2 separate regions of the Homo sapiens genome follow, and region 1 is linked to region 2. Evidence: promoter capture Hi-C in human tissues and cell types (Jung and others, 2019). All regions are on one chromosome and are shown on one strand. Each heading gives the region's core, a stretch centred on a gene start or on the middle of the fragment in contact. The rest is flanking DNA. Distances are from core to core; before and after follow the strand shown. Region 1 has its middle 9.7 kb from the start of UNC13A. Region 2 holds the start of SLC5A5 (solute carrier family 5 member 5).

Evidence for each region. The method cuts DNA at HindIII sites, captures the fragments that hold promoters and counts their contacts. A contact is called where the count stands out against the background at its distance.
Region 1: a fragment that was not itself captured here is called in contact with the fragment with the promoter of SLC5A5 in region 2 in 2 of the 25 tissues and cell types used here (lymphoblastoid cells and spleen).

The regions. Positions count from the first base shown.
Region 1 is chr19:17,695,076-17,701,042 of GRCh38, reverse strand. No RefSeq gene overlaps it. Among named protein-coding and RNA genes, the nearest start is that of UNC13A, 9.7 kb to the right of the region's middle. The HindIII fragment of the contact is 6,509 bases long and covers 1-4,724 here.
Region 2 is chr19:17,868,065-17,873,671 of GRCh38, reverse strand. SLC5A5 (solute carrier family 5 member 5) reads right to left here and starts at 1,727. Exons shown (of 15, transcript NM_000453.3): 1 at 996-1,727. The coding sequence starts at 1,352. RefSeq lists enhancers at 3,605-4,258, 4,259-4,912. The HindIII fragment of the contact is 15,663 bases long and covers 1-3,823 here.

The DNA of each region.
Region 1 (5,967 bases), core at 221-2,720, 170 kb after region 2:
AGAGACAGAGTCTCACTCTGTCACCTAGACCCAGGCTGGAGTGCAGTAGTGCAGTCATAGCTCACTGCAGCCTCCATCTCCTTGGCTCAGGCAGTCCTCCCACTGCAGCCTCCTGAGTAGCTGGGACTACAGGCACACACCACCATGCCCAGCTCATTTAAAAATTTTTGTAGAGATGGGGTCTCACTCTGTTGCCCAGGCTGATCTCAAAATCCTGGTCTCCCTCAAGGAATCCTCCCGCCTCGGCCTCCCAAAGTGCTGGGATTACAGACATAAGCCACTGCACCTGACCTGGACTCATTCTTGTCCCTTCTCTTTCCTTACCCTGCATGTTCAGTGCATCAGCAGGTCCTGCAGTCTCCGGCTCCAGAATGAAACTGAGCCTCCCTGAGCTCCTAAGGGGCCTGCTGTATCTTGTGTGGATGCTGTCCTGGCTCCCTGCCACCTACACTCCTGCCCCCAGCCATCCTTGCTCCCCTAGGGAGCCCCAGATGGATTCTTAAAATCATAAAGCAGGCCGGGAGCGGTGGCTCACGCCTGTAATCCCAGCACTTTGAGAGGCCAAGATGGGCAGATCACGAGGTCAGGAGATCGAGACCATCCTAGCTAACATATGAAACCCCGTCTCTACTAAAAATACAAAAAAATTTAGCTGGGCGTGGTGGTGGGCACCTATAGTCCCAGCTACTTGGGAGGCTAAGGCAGGAGAATGGCGTGAACCCGGGAGGCAGAGCTTGCAGTGAGCCGAGATCGCGCCACTGCACTCCAGCCTGGGCGACAGAGCGAGACTCCATCTCAAAAAAAAAAAAATCATAAAGCAGATCACGCCCTTCCTCTGCTCAAAGCCCTCCCGTGGCTCCCTATTACCCTCATAGTATAGCCCACACTCTTTCCTGTGATCAGGAGGCCTGGCATAGTCTGTATCCCTGCTGACCTGCCCCCCTCCCCGCCCCCGACTCCATCCCTCCCTCACTCCCTCCACCACGTACTGACTCACTCATGTTTATGGAGTGCCCACAGTGTTCTGATTCCGTTTTCCGTTCAAGGTGGTCACTCCCTGCCAGTGCAGTTGGGGGCATCAGAGAGAGGTCTGGGGGTGGGGAGACACGGGTTAGAACAAGACCTCAGTGGCCACTTAGGCTTGGGCTGGAGTCTCAGCCCTGTCTTGCAGAGCTGAACCCCCATCTCTTCTTCCTTCTCAGTCACTCTCTCTCCATCTCTCTGTCTGTCCATCTCAGAGTAAATTCCAGAGCCTTCTCCATCCCCTGCCCTGAGGCCCTGAATGACCTTCCCCCGCAGTTCCCTTTCTCTCTATTCTTCTTCTTCTTCTTCTTCTTCTTTTTTTTTTTTTTGAAACAGAGTCTCGCTGTTTTGCCCAGGCTGGAGTGCAGTGGCACAATCTCTGTTCACTGCAACTTCTGCCTCCCAGGCTCAAGTGATTCTCCTGCCTCAGCTTCTGGAGTACCTGGGACTACAGGCGTGCACCACCACCCCTGTCTAATTTTTGTAATTTTTTAGTGGAGACGGGGTTTCACCATGTTGGGCAGGCTGCTCTCGAACTCCTGACCTCAGGTTATCTGCCCGCCTTGGCCTCCCAAAGTGCTGGGATTACAGGGGTGAGTCACCATGTCCGGTCCCCTTTCTCTCTTTTCCTCTCTCCCCCTCACTCATTCACACAAGCCTTCTCGGCTTCTCCAACACACCAGGCACAGCCTCACCTCAGGGCCTTTGCACCTGTCCTGTGAATGCCTGTCCCTCATCTCTCTCCCTGCCTGGCTCCACCTCTTTTACATCTTGGCTCTCGTGTTGCCTCCTCCGGGAAGCAGATTCCCCCACCCCTTCCATCCCTCTCTGTCACCAGACCCTTCCCATCGCCTCATAATCGTCCTTGACTTCCTCTGCCTGCTTGTTCATTCCCACTTCCCATGCTAGGGACAATGTCGCCTGGCAGAACCTGGTGACAAGCTTAGTTCCCAGCATCCAGATGGCACCAGCAAACGCTGGCTGAACAAATTGACGTCTCATCGGTATCCGTCTACTCCATGGAGCTTTGCACAGTGCCAGGAACATCAAATGCACCCCGTAAGGACTGGGAATTTATCTGAAGACCAAGCAAGTTTGCCTTGGATTGGGGCTGCTAGAAAAAGCTCTGCCCAGCCGGGTGCGGGTACCTTATGCCTGTAATCCCAGCACTTTGGGAGGCCAAGGTGGGAGGATTGCTGGAGCCCAGGAGTTCAAGAGCAGACTGGGAAACCCGATGAAACCTCATCTCTACAAAAGTACAAAAAATTAGCTGGGGCCGGGCGCGGTGGCTCATGCCTGTAATCCCAGCACTTTGGGAGGCCGAAGGGGGCACATTGCCTGAGGTCAGGACTTTGAGACCAGCCTGGCCAACATGGTGAAACCCCTTCTCTACTAAAAATGCAAAAAAAATTAGCTGGGTGTGGTGGCGTGCGCCTGTAATCCCAGCTACTCGGGAGGCTGAGGCAGGGGAATTGCTTGAACCAGAGAGGTGGAGGTTGCAATGAGCCGAGATTGCGCCATTGCATTCCAGCCCGGGCGACAGAGACTCCATTTCAAAAAAAAAAAAAAAAACTTAGCTGGGCATGGTGGTGTGTACCTGCAGTCCTGGCTACTCAGGAGGCTAAGGTGGGAGGATCACCTGAGCCTGGGGAGGTCGAGGCTGCAGTGAGCCGTGATTGTGCCGCTGCACTCCAGCCTGGGCGACAGAGTGAGACACCATCTCACAAAAAGAAGAAAAAAAGCTCTTACCATTCATTCTCCATTCAAAAGCTGAGCTGGACAGATGCTGTGCCGTGAAACTCTTCTCATCTAAAGCCCAGATGTTTTCATCGCTGCTTTTGGCACCGGGGGTGGGCAGGTTTTGATAAGAGCAGGGTCCCTGGGGAAGCCCTGGAGCTCAGCAAGGCAGGAATGATGTGTCTGCATTTGCTGGCAGTGGTAGCCTCACTCTGCAGGTGGGGGGGTTGTACTTTTCACCAGCCTGTACATTATCTCCCATCACTTCTCTTTCCATTATTTTTCTTTGTGGGTTTCCTAGGGTGGTGGAGAGAAAGCATGAAATTGGAAGCCAAGAGAAGAGAGATGGAAAGACACAGAGAGTCACACAGGGTTTGCAAAGGCTCCAAATGCAGATGCACCTGGAGGGGAATGAAGTTAAGAGGGGGCCACATGGAGGTTGCAGTGAGCCGAGATCTTGTCACTGCACTTCAGTCTGGGTGACAAAGACTGTCTCAAAAATAAGTAAATAAATAAATAAATAAAAGAGGGGGCCGGCCGGGTGTGGAGGCTCACGCCTGTAATCTCAGCACTTTGGGAGGCCAAGGCAGGTGGATCACGTAAGGTCAGGAGTTCGAGACCAGCCTGGCCAAGATGGTGAAACCCCGTCTCTACTAAAAATACAAAATTAGCCAGGTGTGGTGGCTCATGCCTGTAATCCCAGCTACTTGGGAGGCTAAGGCAGGAAAATCGCTTGAACCTGGGAGGCGGAGGTTGCAGGCTGAGATGATGCCACTGCACTCCAGCCTGGATGACAAGAGGAAAACTGTGTCTAAAAAAAAAAAGAGGGGGCCACAGAGAAGAGAGGGCAAGAGAAGACAGAAGCAGCATGGCATAATTAATTGGAGGGAGGAGGAGACAGCTCAAATCAATACCTTTCGAATCAGCCGAGCTATGCTGTTGGTGGGAATGAAATGAGGCACCAGGGCTTAAAAATTAATTGGATCCAAATGATCAATGATGAACGTTGAAACATTCTCTTTCAGAATTGGAACAAGGCAGGAATGCCTGTTAACATGGTGCTGCGCATTTTACTAAAGAAAACAAGAAATGAAAGTTCTGAGGAGTGGAAAGGAGGAATTAAGGGTGTCTTTAGGCCTGGCACGGTGGCTCACGCCTGTAATCTCAGCACTTTGGGAGGCCAAGGCGTTCGAGACCTTGAGGCCAGGAGTTCGAGACCAGCCTGGCCAATGTGACGAAACCCCATCTCTACTAAAAATACAAAAAATAGCTGGGCGTGGTGGCTTGCCTGACCTGGACTCACTCTTGTCCCTTCTCTAATCCCGGCTACTCGGGAGGCTGAGGCAGGGGAATTGCTTGAACCAGGGAGGTGGAGGTTGCAATGAGCCGAGATTGCGCCACTGCACTCCAGCCTGGGGGACAGAGTGAGAATCCATCTCAAAAAAAAAAAATTAGCTGGGCATGGTGGTGTGTACCTGTAGTCCTGGCTACTCAGGAGGCTAAGGTGGGAGGATCACCTGAGCCTGGGGAGGGTAATCCCAGCTATGTGGGAGGCTGAGACACAAGAATTGCTTGAACCCAGGAGGCAGAGGTTGCAGTGAGCCAAGATCGCACCACTGTACTCCAGCCTGGGTGACAGAGCGAGACCCTGCCTCAAAAAAAAAAAAAAAAAGGAAAAAGAAAAAAAAAAGAGTGTCTTTATTTGCAGATAACATCCTCATACGCAATAAACTCCCAAAGAATGTGCACATCTAATTATTGGGTTTACAAAAAGTTGAGAAAGCTTGATAGATGCTGGTCACAGTGGCTTACGACTGTAATCCCAGCACTTTGGGAGATGAGGCAAGAGGATCGCTTGAGCCCAGGGGTTCAAGACCAGCCTGGGCAACATAGGGAGACCCCGTATCTACAAAAAATAAAAAATTAGTCAAGAATGGTGACATAAACCTGTAGTCCCAGCTACTGGGGTGGCTGAGGCAAGAGGATCACTTGAGCCAGGGAGGTTGGGGCTATAATGAGGTATGATTGCACCACTGCACTCCAGAAAGGGTGACAGAGTCAGACCCTGTCCCCCAAATAAATAGGCCACTTATCCACAGCACCAAATACTCAAAGCATCTAGAAAAAAATCCCAAAGTTATAAGCTTTGCTGAAAGATAGATAAATGGAATTATTCACTGTATGTTCACTTTGAAAGATTCAATCACAAAAGATGCTCATTCTCCTGATTTGGTTTATAGATTCAATGCAATTCCAATCTAAGTCCCAACTGAGTTTCTCCATGCAACCCAAAAAGCTGAGAAGAAAGCAAAGAATAAGTCAGATGCTTGTGAAGCAGAGCAAGATGAGTGACTGGTGTTGGCAGATGTAAACGATTAGCACAAAGCTTCTACCAGGAATAGATCAGCCTCTGGGACAGAAGAGAGATCCTAGACCAGACTTCCAGGTGGGCAGACATCCAGCAGCACTGCTTGACTTCTGGTTGGTCTATGCTTGCTGTTAAATCCACACATGCATGAAAACTTGCTTTGTGAGTTTCATTACAGGGTATTGGGACAATAGATCATCCCCATGGACAAAATATGCGATTGGACTTTATCTTACTCCACACTCAGAAATCAGTTCCAAGAGAAGTCAAGACATGACTGCAAATGACAAGACTCAAAAAATGTAGAATACGTATGGGAAGATCTTTATGACGCTGGGGCAGAAAATGATTTCTTTCCTTTCTTTCCCCTTCCTTCCTTCCTTCCTCCCTCCCTCCCTTCCTTCCCTCCCTCCCTCCTTTTTCTTTGTTTCTTTCCTTTCCTTTCTCTCTTTCCTTCTTTTCTTTCTTTCTCTTTCTTTCTCTTTTTTCTCTTTCTGTCTCTCTTTCTGTCTCTCTCTCTTTCCCTCTCTCCCTCTCTCTCTTTCTTTCCCTTCCTTCCTTCCTCCCTCCCTCCCTTCCTTCTCTTCTATTCTTTTCTTTTTCTCTTTCTTTCTCTCTCTCTCTCTTTTTTTTTTTTTTTAATTTGAGATGGAGTCTCGCTCTGTCACCCAGGCTGGAGTGCAGTAGCATGATCTCCACTCACTGCAAGCTCTGCCTCCCGTGTTCATGCCATTCTCCTGCCTCAGCCTCCCAAGTAGCTTGGACTACAGGTGCCTGCCACCACGCCCGGCTAATTTTTTGTATTTTTAGTAGAGACGGGTTTCACCGTGTTAGCCAGG
Region 2 (5,607 bases), core at 478-2,977:
CAATTCTTCTGCCTCAGCCTCCTGAGTAGCTGGGATTACAGGCGCGCGCGACCATGCCCGGCTAATTTTTGTATTTTTAGTAAAGACGGGGTTTCACCATGTTAGCCAGGCTGGTCTTGAACTCCTGACCTCGTGATCCACCCACCTCGGCCTCCCAAAGTGCTGGGATTACAGGCGTGAGCCACTGCGCCCTGCCACAATATTTTTTTTTCCTTTGAGACAAGAGTCTCGCTCTGTCGCCCAGGCTGGAGTGCAGTGACGCGATATCGGCTCACTGCAACCTCCCGGGTTCAAGCAATTCTCCTGTCTTAGCCTCCCAAGTAGCTGGGATTACAGGTGCCCACCACCACATCCGGCTAATTTTTGTATTTTTAGTAGAGACGGGGTTTCGCCATGTTGGCCAGGCTGGTCTTGAACTCCTGACCTCAGGTGATCTGCATGCTTTGGCCTCCCAAAGTGCTGGGATTACAGGCGTGAGCCACCGCACCGGGCCCCGGTCACGATTTTAATCGCTTTACCCTCTCCCCTGGAGGGAGGTCCTGTAATTCGCCCATTGGACAGCTGGGAAACCCAAACAGAGAGGCACGCCCCTTGCCCAAGATACAAGAAAGCAGTGAAGCCAGGTTTCGAACCCCGGAGCCGTCAGCAGTCCCCTCTAGCGCGCACACGTGGGTCTGCACGCCCGGGCAGGTGGGGGGCAGGTGTGTGTCCACCCGTGAGGACACACCTGGTCGAGCCGGGCCCCGCCCCGCGCGCGCTTCCACCGAAGGAGCAGGACGCCAGGCTCTCTCTTCCTCCTTCCTGCCCCTCGCCGGGCGCCTGGGGCCTCTTCCTAGAACCCTCCCCACGTGTCTGCCTAGGGGCCCCTTCCGTTAAAGCACCGAGGTGCCATCCGCGTCCTCCTGTACAGCGGCCCAAAGCCCCAGCGCCTCCCCCACACGGGGTCCCAGCACTGCCAGTGGGGCAGGTCCTACCCCCGGGCCTCTGTCCGGTACCTCGTAGGTGCTGGTGAGGCCCAGGCGGTAGAAGACGGGCATGAAGAGCAGGGCGGTGAGGACCGAGTTCAGAAGCTGGCCCAGGCACATCCAGAGGAACTTGAGGCCATAGCGATAGGCCTCCGACGGCACGCCCAGCACCTGCACGGCCGACATGAAGCTGGCAGACAGCGACAGGCCCACGGGCAGGGCCGCCAGGCGCCGGCCCCCGGTGAAGAAGTCCTCAGCGCTGCGCTGCCCGCCCCGAGCCAGCCCGACCCACAGCCCGATGCCAGTGGACACCAGGAGCATGAGGGCAAAGACCCCGTAGTCCCAGGCTCCGAAGGTGGGCCGTTCCCCGGTCTCCACGGCCTCCATGAGGGCGGGTGCGGAGGCCCAGCGCGTCCTCGGACGCCCTGCGTGCTCAAGCGGGGGAAGCTGGCAGGGGCCGAGGAGGCAGGACGGGGAGGGCGGGTGGGAGGATGCTCGGCAGCCTGTCCCCGCTCCGTCTGGGGTGGGAAGCGGCGAGAGGGGCCGGGGCTCCCTGGGTTAGGAATCTATGGGCTGTCGATGTCCGTGTCGGCCTCCCTGTCCCCGCTGTCTGTCTCTGCGTCCGCCCCTGCTGTCTGTCTGTCCTGCCACCTCCCCTCTCACTCTGGGTTCCGCTGTCCCATGCAGCCGGCTGTCTGTCCCTCTCCCTGGGCGCTGTGCTCAGCGCTGACAGCTGGAGGTCGCCTTGGGGCTTACGGGAGCAGCTCGTGATTGTGGGTTGCAGATTTATTGGGCTCCCGGGTCACCGCGACTCCGCCTCCAGACCTAGGGGCGGGCAGGACCCGCACCCTTTCAGCCCTGGACTGGGACAGACAGGCCAGGACAGGCTATCTGGGTGGCTGCAGGGGGTGGTATCGGGGAGGGCTCCCAAATGCCCCTCCATCCCCATGCACCCACCCATCCCCATGCACTGTGATCCCCTGATCACAGCTGTCACTGTCTGCTGTTGACAGGTGGGGAAATTGAGGCTCAGAGAGGGCATGTCACTATCCAAGCCTGCACAGCCTGCTTCAGCACTCAAAGCCGTATTGTGCTTGAATACCTTGAGCTATGGGGAGCTCACTTTCATGCAGGACTGGGGTTCACTTTCAGGGTTTCAGGGGACCCATAAAGAAAACTTACCTGGCTTTACCACCCCCAAACTGGCATGTGGGCCTACCCCCTTTCTCTAGAGCCTTAGGGGGTGGGCATCACTGAACCCCGCTCTTGGGCTAAGCTGGGTGGGAGACATTCAGAGCTCAAGTTCTGAGTGGGTACATACTTGGGGAAGACTTTGCTCCTCCCTGGGCCTTAGTTTCCCCATCTGTAACAAGGATAAAATAGACCCTGCCTCAGAGGAATAAATGGGACGTGGTAACGAAAGCCTGGTACATGATAAGTGCCTCATTCATTTATTCCTTTATTCATTTGTCACTTCATTCATTCATTCATTGGTTCCTTTGCAGATATGCACTGAGAGTTGGCCCTGTGCCAGGCATAAATGGCTCACTGAGGTGGTGCGAGGGGCCTTTAAGGTTATGAACCCGAATAAGCGGAGACCATGACCACCAGGGAGGTAGAGTCTGGCTTGTCCCTATCATATAGATGAGGAAACCAAGGTTGGGTGTGGGAGAAAGTCTACTGGGGGGGTCACGCTTCCATGAGGACCAACGAGCTGTCATCTCAGGGCCCTTCTCTGGGGGACCCAGGAGGACTTTGACCTCTGGAGGTTCTGGTCTCTGGGTTCAAGTCTCAGCTCAGCCTCCAACTTTCTGGGCAATCACGCATCTCAAACTTGGTTCCCTTCTCCATAAGCTGGTGGAATCTGAAATCCTGGGGGTTGAAAGAAACAGCGTCAGAGGCCGGGCATGATGGCTTATGCCTGTAATCCCAGCACTTTGGGAGGCTGAAGTGGGAGGATCATTTGAGTCCCAGAATTCGAGACTACCCTGAGCAACATAGTGAGATCTTGTCTGTATGAAAAATACAAATATTAGCGAGGCGTGGTGGCACATGCCTGTAATCCCAGCTACTCAGGAGGCTGAAGTGGGAGGATCGCTTGAGCGTGGAAGTTCGAGGCTGCAATGAGCTGTGGTCGAGAACTGCACAGCACTCCAGCCTGGGCAGCACAGCAAGACCCCGTCTCCAAAAAAAAAAAAAAAAAAAAAAAAAGGGCTTTTGAGCGCTTCTCGCCAGCCTCTGCTGCTCCCTGGTGGCCTCCTCTGGCCTACCCTCTGCCCTGGCCGCTCCAGCTGGGTCCAGCGTTTCTCAACGCGTCCCCACGTAACCCCCGGACAGTCCTCTTGCTCCCTCTCTGCTGTGCAGGGTGGACCTGTCCCTCCCCCGGGGCTGTGACACTGCGGCGGCTACGCGGGCACCTGTTGCCGGCTGGAGCGTACCTCCTGCCCTCGCCAGGAGAGTGGGTTAGGCACCTAGTTCTTTCTCCTTCCACCCTGGTCAGGCATCCTCCTGGAAACCCCGTTGGAAAAGGGGAGATCCGGCCGGGTGCGGTGTCTCACTCCTGTAATCCCAGCACTTTGGGGGGCCGAGGCGGACGGGTCTCTTGAGATCCGTTCAAGACCAGTCTGGCCAACATGGTGAAACCCCGTCTCTACTAAAAATACAAGAATTAGCCGGGCGTGGTGGCGGCCGCCTGTAATCCCAGCTACTTGGGAGGCTGAGGCGGGAGAATCGCTTGAGCCCGGGAGGTGGAGGTTGCAGTGAGCCGAGATCGCGCCACTTCACTCCAGCCTGGGCGACAGAGAGAGATTCCGTCTCAAAAAATAAATAAATAAACAAATAAATAAATAAAAATCAAGGCTGGGCGCGGTGGCTCACGCCTGTAATCCTAGCACTTTGGGGGGCCGACGCGGGCGGATCACGAGGTCAGGAAATCGAGACCATCCAGGCCAACGTGGTGAAACCCCGTCTCTACTAAAAATACAAAAATTAGCCGGGCGTGATGGCACGCGCCTGTAGTCCCAGCTACTCGGGAGACTGAGGCAGGAGAATCGCTTGAACCCGGGAGGCGGAGGTTGCAGTGAGCCGAGATCGTGCCACTGCACTCCAGCCTGGCGACAGAGCGAGACTGTCTCAATCAATCAATCAATCAATCAATGGGAGATCCGAGCGGGATCCCCTACTTGCAAAGCCCTGCCGACCAATGTAAACATATGCAAATTGTGCAAATACATGTAAATGGACCCCTTCTCTCCAGGGAAGTTCTGGGAAGGCATAGCTTCTCTTCTTCCCACCGTGGGGTCCAGGCTGCGGCCAGAGGCCTGGGCTGAGGCCGGTTCATTGAGTGCATACTGTGTGCAGGGCCCTCCGGCAGGTGCTGGGGACACAGCATGATCCAGGTGGACCCACCCCAGGGTGGTGATGGCCCTGACCTCACCAGCAGATAAATACTGATTTCAGCTGGGCACTGTGGCTCACACTTATAATCCCAGCACTTTGGGAGGCTGAGGTGGGAGGATCGCCAGAGCCCGGGAGGTCAAGGCTGCAGTGAGCAGTGATCACACCAGTGAATTCCAGCCTGGATACAGGTTGAGCAGAGACAGACAATCACGGGGTATCTTCTGGGCCTCCGGAAGGGGTGTGGATTTTGTTCTGAGGGTGCTGGGGAACTGTAGGAGAGTTTGGAGCAGGTGAGGAGTCTGATGAGATTTCTAGATTCTGAAAAATGGGTCATATCCAAGTGGCGGGAGTGGGGTGGCTGCCGAGTGGGGGGAGGGGGGTGGATTTGGAAAGCACTTTGGAATTCCTAAGGAGGCCTGGAGTGAAGGCCCCTGCAGAGTGTGCAGGACCATCTCCTGCCCTAGCGGAGGGAATTGTGAGCCTGGAGAGGAAAAGCAGCAGAGTGGGGAGAATCAGGTCACACCTTCCTTGACTGTGATTCCAATGACAGAAGCGGGCAGCAGGACCCCAGGATGTGAGTTAGGAAGGGCCCAAGGCCGCGGCAGACAATGTGAGCAGAATGTGCAGGAATGGGAGAGTGGTGGCAGTGTCGGGGCGCTGTCCCCTGCCCCTTGGTTCCCTGGGAGATGCAGCAGGGGTTGGGGTGAGAAGTTGTGAGCTGCTGTGACTGCAGCACGACCTGCTGGGTGGCCCTGGACATCAATTCCCCTTCTGTGAGCTAGGAGTGACAGTGGGATTTGAACCCACGCCATGGGGAGCCAGAATCTGTCCTTGAACTTCAACTCTGCACTCAACAAGTGCAAAAAGGCCAGTTTCGGTGGCTCATGCCTGTAATCTCAGCACTTTGGGAGGCCAAGCCAGGAAGATGGCTGGAGGCTAGGAGTTGGAGACCAGCCTGAACAATATAGTGAGACCCCAACTCTACAATTTTGTTTGTTTGTTTGTTTGTTGTATTTTTAGTAGAGAAGGGGTTTCACCATGTTGGCCAGGCTGGTCTCGAACTCCTGACCTCACATGATCCACCCACCTCTGCCTCCCAAAGTGCTAGGACTACAGGTGTGAGCCACCATGCCCAGCCAAAAATTTTTAAAAGTTAGCCGAGTTTGGTGGTGTGCACCTGTGGTCCCAGCTACTTAGGAGGCTGAAGCAGAAGGATTGGTTGAGCTGGGGAGGTTGAGGCTGC